Regions from separate parts of the Homo sapiens genome. Here region 2 is linked to region 1. The links are contacts of gene promoters, found by promoter capture Hi-C in blood cells and fetal thymus (Javierre and others, 2016). All regions are on one chromosome and are shown on one strand. Each heading gives the region's core, a stretch centred on a gene start or on the middle of the fragment in contact. The rest is flanking DNA. Distances are from core to core; before and after follow the strand shown.

Region 1 (3,803 bases), core at 410-2,909:
TCTTTTGACATTTTCTAGTGCATTTATGAATGTTTGTGTGTACTTATGAGATCAATTTTATTTTTTTGTCGTTAAAATAATTGGTCTCGTATTATGCATGTTTTCTTCATGCCTTTTCATACTACAGCATTTCTTGAAGATATAGCCATGCCAGTACTGATAATTTTGTTTTTCTTTTATATATAGTCTATGTACTGGCTACTTAATTAAAAACTGTACTGTAAAAAATTTCAAATGTTTGCAAAAGGAGAGAACTGTCATCCCCAGATTATTTTAGAGCAAATCCCAGATATTATATAATTTCATACACAAAACCTAAAGTTTTTCGGGGGAACAGTGTGTGCTTGGAAAGATGTAGTTGAAAAGAAAGACTGAAAGCAAGTCGTAGGGCATAATGGATTTCTGAAGAAATAGTTGCAACCAGCAGAAGTATGGGCTATTGTGCAGAGGATATGGAAGTTAAAGAAGATCAATCTCTCTGCATCACTGAAAGGATTGCTGGAATGCCTGAGAAGTAAATAACATCAACATCTTTATCCACAGCTTACTAGGTGGCCAGACGCCCTGAACTGATATTTCTTCCCCAGTTCAGATGAATAGCTGGGATATTACTCAAAATTCTATTGCATATCTGTTGCAAGGAAAAGCAGTTCCTCTTTCCCTTCTGTGGTAATTTCTTACAAGCTACAGTTCTGGGCAGGGTGTGAGGGTGGTTGCCTAGAACGGGGTTTCCAAAGCTCCTTAATTGTGGCCTCTGACCCTTTTCATTGCTTCCATGTCCATACCCAGAGTCAAAACCCAAGGAATGCAGTGGGATGACATTACAAATTAATCTTAAGGAAATACGTTATATACCAAAAGAACTGTGTGATTGTGCTGATTTATATGAGCAGAATCTTGGAGTGCATGCTTGGAAATGAATTGTCAAGGTTTTAGATCAGGGAAAGTGGAATTTATTGTCGGGTCAAGCACAACTAATATTAATGCTAATGCATCCTCATCGCTTAGCTCCCACTTATGAGTGAGAAATCTCACCTTTCTCCAAGAATCTGCAGGAGAACGACAGCCTCAGATTTTGATTCACATGAAAAGAAATAGGGAAATAAGAGGGCGTACCTAAAGCCCAGGTGTCTGAGAGACAGAGTGGGAGTGGCTCTCACCTGGCAGAGCCAAGGGATCTGAGGGTGGGTAAAGAAGACACAAGTGTTTTCTCTACTTCTGTCCCCAGGTCCTGCGAATGATCAAGATCTATGCTCTCCCAGAACCACTGGAGAAGGAGGAGGAGGATTTTCTTTCAAAGCCAAGTGCCTTGCCCCCAGGATCTCCAGCTTTTTACCATTGCACAGGTTAGGAGAACGCACACCTTCCTGGTAGATTCTGCACAGTGGAGAAAAGGCTTCATGAGAAGCATGGAGGCTGGAACTCACACCACTCATCCTCACTCCATCGTCTTTATCTGTGCATTTCCCTGGTGACCCCTTCCTCCTCCAGTACCTCCCTCACTGTCGTTTCTGCTGCATCACAGGCACAGGCCTCCAAACAGGTGTGGTTGTGACTGAGTCTGTTTCTGACACCCCACCCCTTCTCACTGTGTGAGGAAACCTTCCTGGGAGGGGCTTGGAATCAGGAATAAAGCCAGAGGCAGGGCTGATAGGGGCCATTTAAATTCTGCAGCTCAGAGATTCACACAGAAGTCTGGACACAATTCAGAAGAGCCACCCAGAAGGAGACAACAATGTCCCTGCTACCCGTGAGTTAAAAAGGCACAGCCTTCAATAATCTCAGGTCACACAGAAAAGGGAAGAGGGAGATTTTATGGGATGAAAATATGAAAATTTCTACTGTGAATGCTTTACTGAGAGTTGTGGGTGTGTGGAAGAGAGACCCTAGGGCTATGGTATCTGAGATGCTCCTGGGGTAGGGGGGTAGGGGGTGTGGATGCTGGAACATTGTGACCCTCTGTGAGCATGTGATGGTATCTGATGAGAGTAAACTCTGCTAAAAATGATGTGACTTTAGACGGGATGTGTATGGCCCTCCAGGATATGGGTGGGTGTGTAAGTGATTGTAATCAGGTGACTGTGTTTTGTCTTCATGACTGTGATGTGAGTGTGTGTGTGAGCACAGCCGGACCAGTGCATGAGCATCTTTATATGCACAGTGAGCAGGTGTGTGTGACTCAGTGAGTGGCACGGCTCTGTGTGACTGTGAGTGTGTGTGCTGGAATGTGACTGGGTGTTGAACTGGGAACATGCATGTGGCCTTCTGTGCATGTGAAGGTTCCTCCCCACATAGCAGTACTCTGTCTAACTTCCCTTGTGCATCACTGTGGATCCCCGGTGACAGAACTTGTGGGATCTTGGGGCCCTTGAGTTACCGAGGACTTATCTCTGAGCATTTATGAGAGCAGAATGCATGAATTCTCAGGTGCCTTTTCCCAAGCAGAATGGGGGTGAGAAACAGACGATGGGGCTGATGGTTCCTTAGGTGGAATCTGCACACAGTGACCACTGGCTCCTGCCTCCAGCCTCAGGTCTCTCCCTGTCTCCTACCCTAGCCTGGCCTTCCCATTGAGTGCCAGGATGCTAGAGAAGGACATTGAGGGACTTGATTTAAGAGACTGAATCACCCAAAACCAGGAAGGTACAAGGCAGAGCTTACAGTGGATATTCATCAAGATGTTTGCTGAGGCCTGTAGTCTCAGCACTTTGGGTGGCCGAATTGAAAGGCCCATGTCAGGCCAGGACTGGTAGACCAGCCTGGGAGACATAGCAAGATTTCATCTTTCCAAAAATTTAAAAATTTATTGAATGTGGTGTTGCATACCGTAGTTCCAGCTGCTGGGGGGCATATGCAAGAGGTTCACTGAAGCCCAGGCCTTCAAACCTGCAGTAATTTTTTTTTTTTTTTTTTGAGACAGAGTCTCGCTCTGTTTCCCAGGCTGGAGTGCAGTGGTGCAATCTCGGCTCACTGCAACCTCCACCTCCCGGGTTCAAGCGATTCTCATACCTCAGCTTCCCGAGTAGCTGGGATTACAGGCTTGTGCCACCACTCCTGGCTAATTTTTGTATTTTCAGTAGAGATGGGGTTTCTCCATGTTGGCCAGGCTGGTCTCGAACTCCTGACCTCAAGTGATGCACCCACCTTGGCCTCCCAAAGTGCTGAGATTACAGGCGTGAGCCACCACGCCCAGCCTGCAGTGAGTTTTGATGGTGCCACTGCATTCCAGCCTAGGTGACAGTGTGACCCTGTTTCAAAAAAGAAAAATACCATCCATTTATAGATTCTAGCCAATAACTTCCCTGACCCACAATCTTCATTTGTGCAAGTACTGCGGTTGTGCTCTCAGCAATGTGTGCCCCTTCTGGGAAGGACGTCCATTGCCCATGATGATTGTGATGTATGTGCCTCCCACGCACAGGGGTTTCCTGTTCTTTCCTGTTCGTTTCCCTCTCTCTTTCAACAAGTGTTGTTTCTTTCTTTCTTTTTTTTTTTGGTGGTTAAAATGATAATAAAAAATAAAACTCACAATCTCAAGTTAGAAAAGATGCAGAGTACCTGAAACAGTCAAACGATGCTTGGAGGGATGTAAAATGATACAGCTACATTGGAAAATCGTTTGGTATTCCCATAAAATTAAACATAAAATCACCAAACAAACAGAAACACTTTACTCACCAGATTTTAGCCAAGTAAACACTTTAGTTTATGGAAAATCCTATACAGAAATGTTTATAGTGTCATTATTTGTAGCTGTTCTCAAATTGAAACTAACCCAAAGTTGTTGTTTCTTACTGGAGTGA
Region 2 (3,803 bases), core at 933-3,432, 180 kb after region 1:
ATCGTTGTAGGTCTTACATGTATTCTGTGATACATTCTGAGTTAATTTTTGTATATGTTATAAGATAAAGGCCCCAACCATATTATTTTGCATGTGTAAGTCCAGTTTTCCCAGCATCATGTGTTGAAAAGACTGTCCTTTCCCAGTGAGATGGTCTTGGCCTACTGTGGACTCTCACATGAATGTGTATGTGAGTGTTTATTTCTGGGCTCCCTATTATATTCCATTGGTATATGTGCCTCTCCTTAAGCAAGCACCACACTGTTATAATAGCTTTGTAAAGGGGTCAAGTGTTGGACACAATAAAATAGGCACTTCTAGGCCAGGCGTGGTGGCTCACGTCTATAATCCCAGCACTTTGGGAGGCCGAGGTGGGCGGATCACCTGAGGTCGGGAGTTCAAGACCAGCCTGGCCAACATGGAGAAACCCTGTCTCTACTAAAAATACAAAATTAGCCAGGTGTGGTGGTGCATGCCTGTAATCCCAGCTACTTAGGAGGCTGAGGCAGGAGAGTTGCTTGAATCCGGGAGGTGGAGGTTGCGGTTAGGTGAGATCGCACCATTGCACTCCAGCCTGGGCAACAAGACCAAAACTCCATCTGAAAATAAATAAATAAATAAAGGCACTTCCAAAGTCATTTCTGGAGGTTACATATCTTGGGTTTGACTTTTTTTTTCTCCAGGACCTACATGGGCACTATTTCTTATCACTGTGCCTGTATCTTGAGAGGTAGAGGGACCCATGCACTGGTCAGCTGTGCTGGTAAAGAGGCCACCATGAGATAGAAGACACTCCTCAGTGCCCAGGAAACACTTCTTGGTCTACTTCTTCCCATGGCACAATGCCATCTCACAGCCACCACCCTATACTCGTCTTTCTGCTGTCACCAACACAGAGGCAGCCAGTGAAGCCTGGATTCTGTTCTCAGTTCCTCCTGGTTCACTTGCCTCAGCATATTCAGGCACTGGGCTGGAGGTAAGCCCCTGGTAGGGTCTGGGTCAACTTGTAGAATTTCTCCCTATACCAGTGATTTCTGTCCTCCAGGCCTGCAACAGTGCTTCACCACCATCTAAGTCCATATTGTGCTGCTATAACAAACTGGATGATTTATAACAAACAAACATTTATTTGGCTTACAATTCTGGAGGCTGGAAAATCCATGAGCACAGAGCTGGGATCTGGCCAGGGCCTTTGTGCCACATCATCCCATGGCAGAAGGAGAAAGGGCAAGAAGGAAGGAGGATTAATGGGTCAGATAAATCTCTGATTTGGGTTTGACCCAAATCAGAGGATTTTGGGTCAGAGTCTCTGAAGTCAACTACATGCTATAGATGGACGTTGTTCCTAATGTCATGTCAGACATTCCAGGGACCTTGTCACTCACTCCTTGTGCCACAGGAAGCTTTATTCTCTTTGATTTCTTGATGCCTCCCATGAAACCCCTCAGGCCCTCTTGGTGATGACCACTTTTGCTTTTTCCCCTTCAAGCAAAAGCCAAAATCCTGTGAAGTTTGGTGAAGTTTTAATGAGCAAGTGTAGGGGAAGGAGTAAGGAGGGATCATGCTGTCAGCAGGCTCTGGGAACCGCATGGTCACGTAGAAAGAGAGATTCCTCGACAGTGGGGAGTGTGGTCATCACCTCAATCTCAGACACACATTGAGGTCAGGGGGATACCTCTCCACACTTGCACCATCTTCACAGACCCTGGCAGGAGTCGATGGGCAAAGCTGTAGCAGTGTTGGCCACTTACCATTACCTGCAAGAGGAAAAGTGCATCAGAAAGACAGTATTTCACCAAACAAGCTTTCAGCCTCCTCTCTACTCTGCCCTAGTACCTACAACACCCACCCAGAAAACTCCTAATTATACATCAAAACCCGGCAGACTCACTTCTGTTTACAGACTACATTTTGTGGCTATCTGAGACAGTTGCTCACTGCATTTTCAATGTTTCCTCTCATTCTTCCAGTGAGGCTCTACCCCTCTATGTCACGTGGTCCCTGTTTGCTGGATCTCCCCTCTAGCCTGGAAGATCCCCATGGCCAGGGATTGTGTCTCTTGACCTTGAATTCCTGCATCTTGCACAGGGCCTGCCACGAGGTTAGTGCTTGACAATGTTTATTGAATGGGTACTTTTAAGTTCCACCAACTGTGACTCCCATTCACTGCTGATGGCCCAGTTTCTCTTTGGAGTAGCCCAGATCTGGGCTGGAGGTGGCCAAGAATGAAACCCAAGTGTTCTTAGAGAGGAGGAACAGGACAGATGTTGCAAAACATAGGATATTATTTTAGCAGCCTATAGTAGGCATATGAACAGATGCCTCACTTAGAGCTGAATAAAATGTTCACCTTTTGGCCTACCCGTTAGAGAAGGTGAGAAAATTTCAATATAATCTGTATTGCTGTAGCTATGAAGAAAGTCATCTTAAAGGTATTAATTTATGAAATTTTAAGATTTTTCACACAATTTTCAACCAATTATTTTATGTCTTTGCAAGTATCCTCCAATGTAAGTATTGGTAGGTTGATAATTACAAAAGAGTTGATTAGAAAGCTTAATACAGCACCCTTTGTGAGAGCAAAATACTAAAAACCACGCAGTAACCATCAAAACGGTCAAGTTCAATCATTTTGGATCATCCTTCTACTGGCATATTATGCAATCTTTAAAAAATGAAGCAGCAGGCCAAGCGCAGTGGCTCATGCCTGTAATGCCAGCACTTTGGGAGGCCAAGGCGGGCAGATTACCTAAGGTCAGGAGTTCGAGACCAGCCAGACCAACATGGAGAAACCCCATCTATACTAAAAATACAAAAAATTAACCAGGCGTGGTGGTGCATCTCTTTAATCCCAGCTACTTGGGAGGCTGAGGCAGGAGAATCGCTTGGACCTGTGAGGTGGAGGTTGCAGTGAGCTGAGATTGCGCCATTGCACTCCAGCCTGAGCAACAAGAGCGAAACTCCATCTCAAAAAAAAAAAAAAGAAAAATGAAGCAGCACCATAGATAGATGAATTCTCCAAGATATGTTCTTTGACTATAAATCGACTCTAGTTTCCAAAGTGTAATGTACAAAGACATTTATAACAGCATTTGTTTAAAAAGAAATGAAAGCATATATGCATATATGTATATATGAATATGTGTATAGGCATATATACAAAAAGGAATGAAAGCATATTATACAAATGAGGAAGAGGAAATATACGGTTCTCTAATGGTAGATTATCTCTGGAAGGAGAGCAGAGAAGCTGGTAGTGTTGTTCTGGGGAGTAGGAGTGAGGTTCGGGAGTGAAAGGAAGAGTTAATTTTTGACTGACTAAAATAATTTGATTCATACATGTATTTTGTCTATTTGGCCACATGAAAATGTAAATAACAGCATGAGCAGAAATGACAGCTATGGAAATGATTCTCCACCTTGGGGGAAATGGCAAGTGAACCAACCTTGACCTTGGTCAGATTTGGGAAAGAGCTGAGGGTGGCAGTGCAAGCAGAGGGTGCTCTGTGATGAAAAGCCTGGGGCAGGAGTCGTTATGGGAGATGGGTCCCGAGGGACTGGTGGGGCCAGGGCAGGGAGAGCTACCTCCTGCTCTGGGAGTCCACAGAGGCTGCATGCTGGGAGCTCCTGGGGTGCTCACCTGGTCCTCCTTGTCCAGCACTCAGATGCGCAGGTCAAATGATTGGCCACCCTCAAAGGGCATATTGTCAGATTTCACCTCACACTTCCAGACCCCCCACTCATGGCTGTTCATGGCCACACAATGACCAAAGTGCACTCGGAAATGGAAAGCGATGTCTGAG

What was found. Contacts are between HindIII fragments. The CHiCAGO score rates a contact against its expected background, and 5 or more counts as called.
Region 2: a contact is called between a fragment that was not itself captured here and the fragment with the promoter of CLC in region 1, in 1 of 17 cell types (megakaryocytes). The highest score is 5.2, in megakaryocytes.

Annotation. Positions count from the first base shown.
Region 1 is chr19:39,735,885-39,739,687 of GRCh38, reverse strand. It overlaps CLC (Charcot-Leyden crystal galectin), which reads left to right and starts at 1,659. Exons shown (of 4, transcript NM_001828.6): 1 at 1,659-1,750. The coding sequence starts at 1,736. The HindIII fragment of the contact is 8,050 bases long and covers 1-3,803 here.
Region 2 is chr19:39,553,194-39,556,996 of GRCh38, reverse strand. It overlaps LOC105372399 (a long non-coding RNA gene), which reads right to left. Exons shown (of 3, transcript XR_935966.3): 2 at 3,641-3,803; 3 at 1,313-1,757. Among named protein-coding and RNA genes, the nearest start is that of EID2, 15 kb to the right of the region's middle. RefSeq lists a silencer at 961-1,020. The HindIII fragment of the contact is 751 bases long and covers 1,807-2,557 here.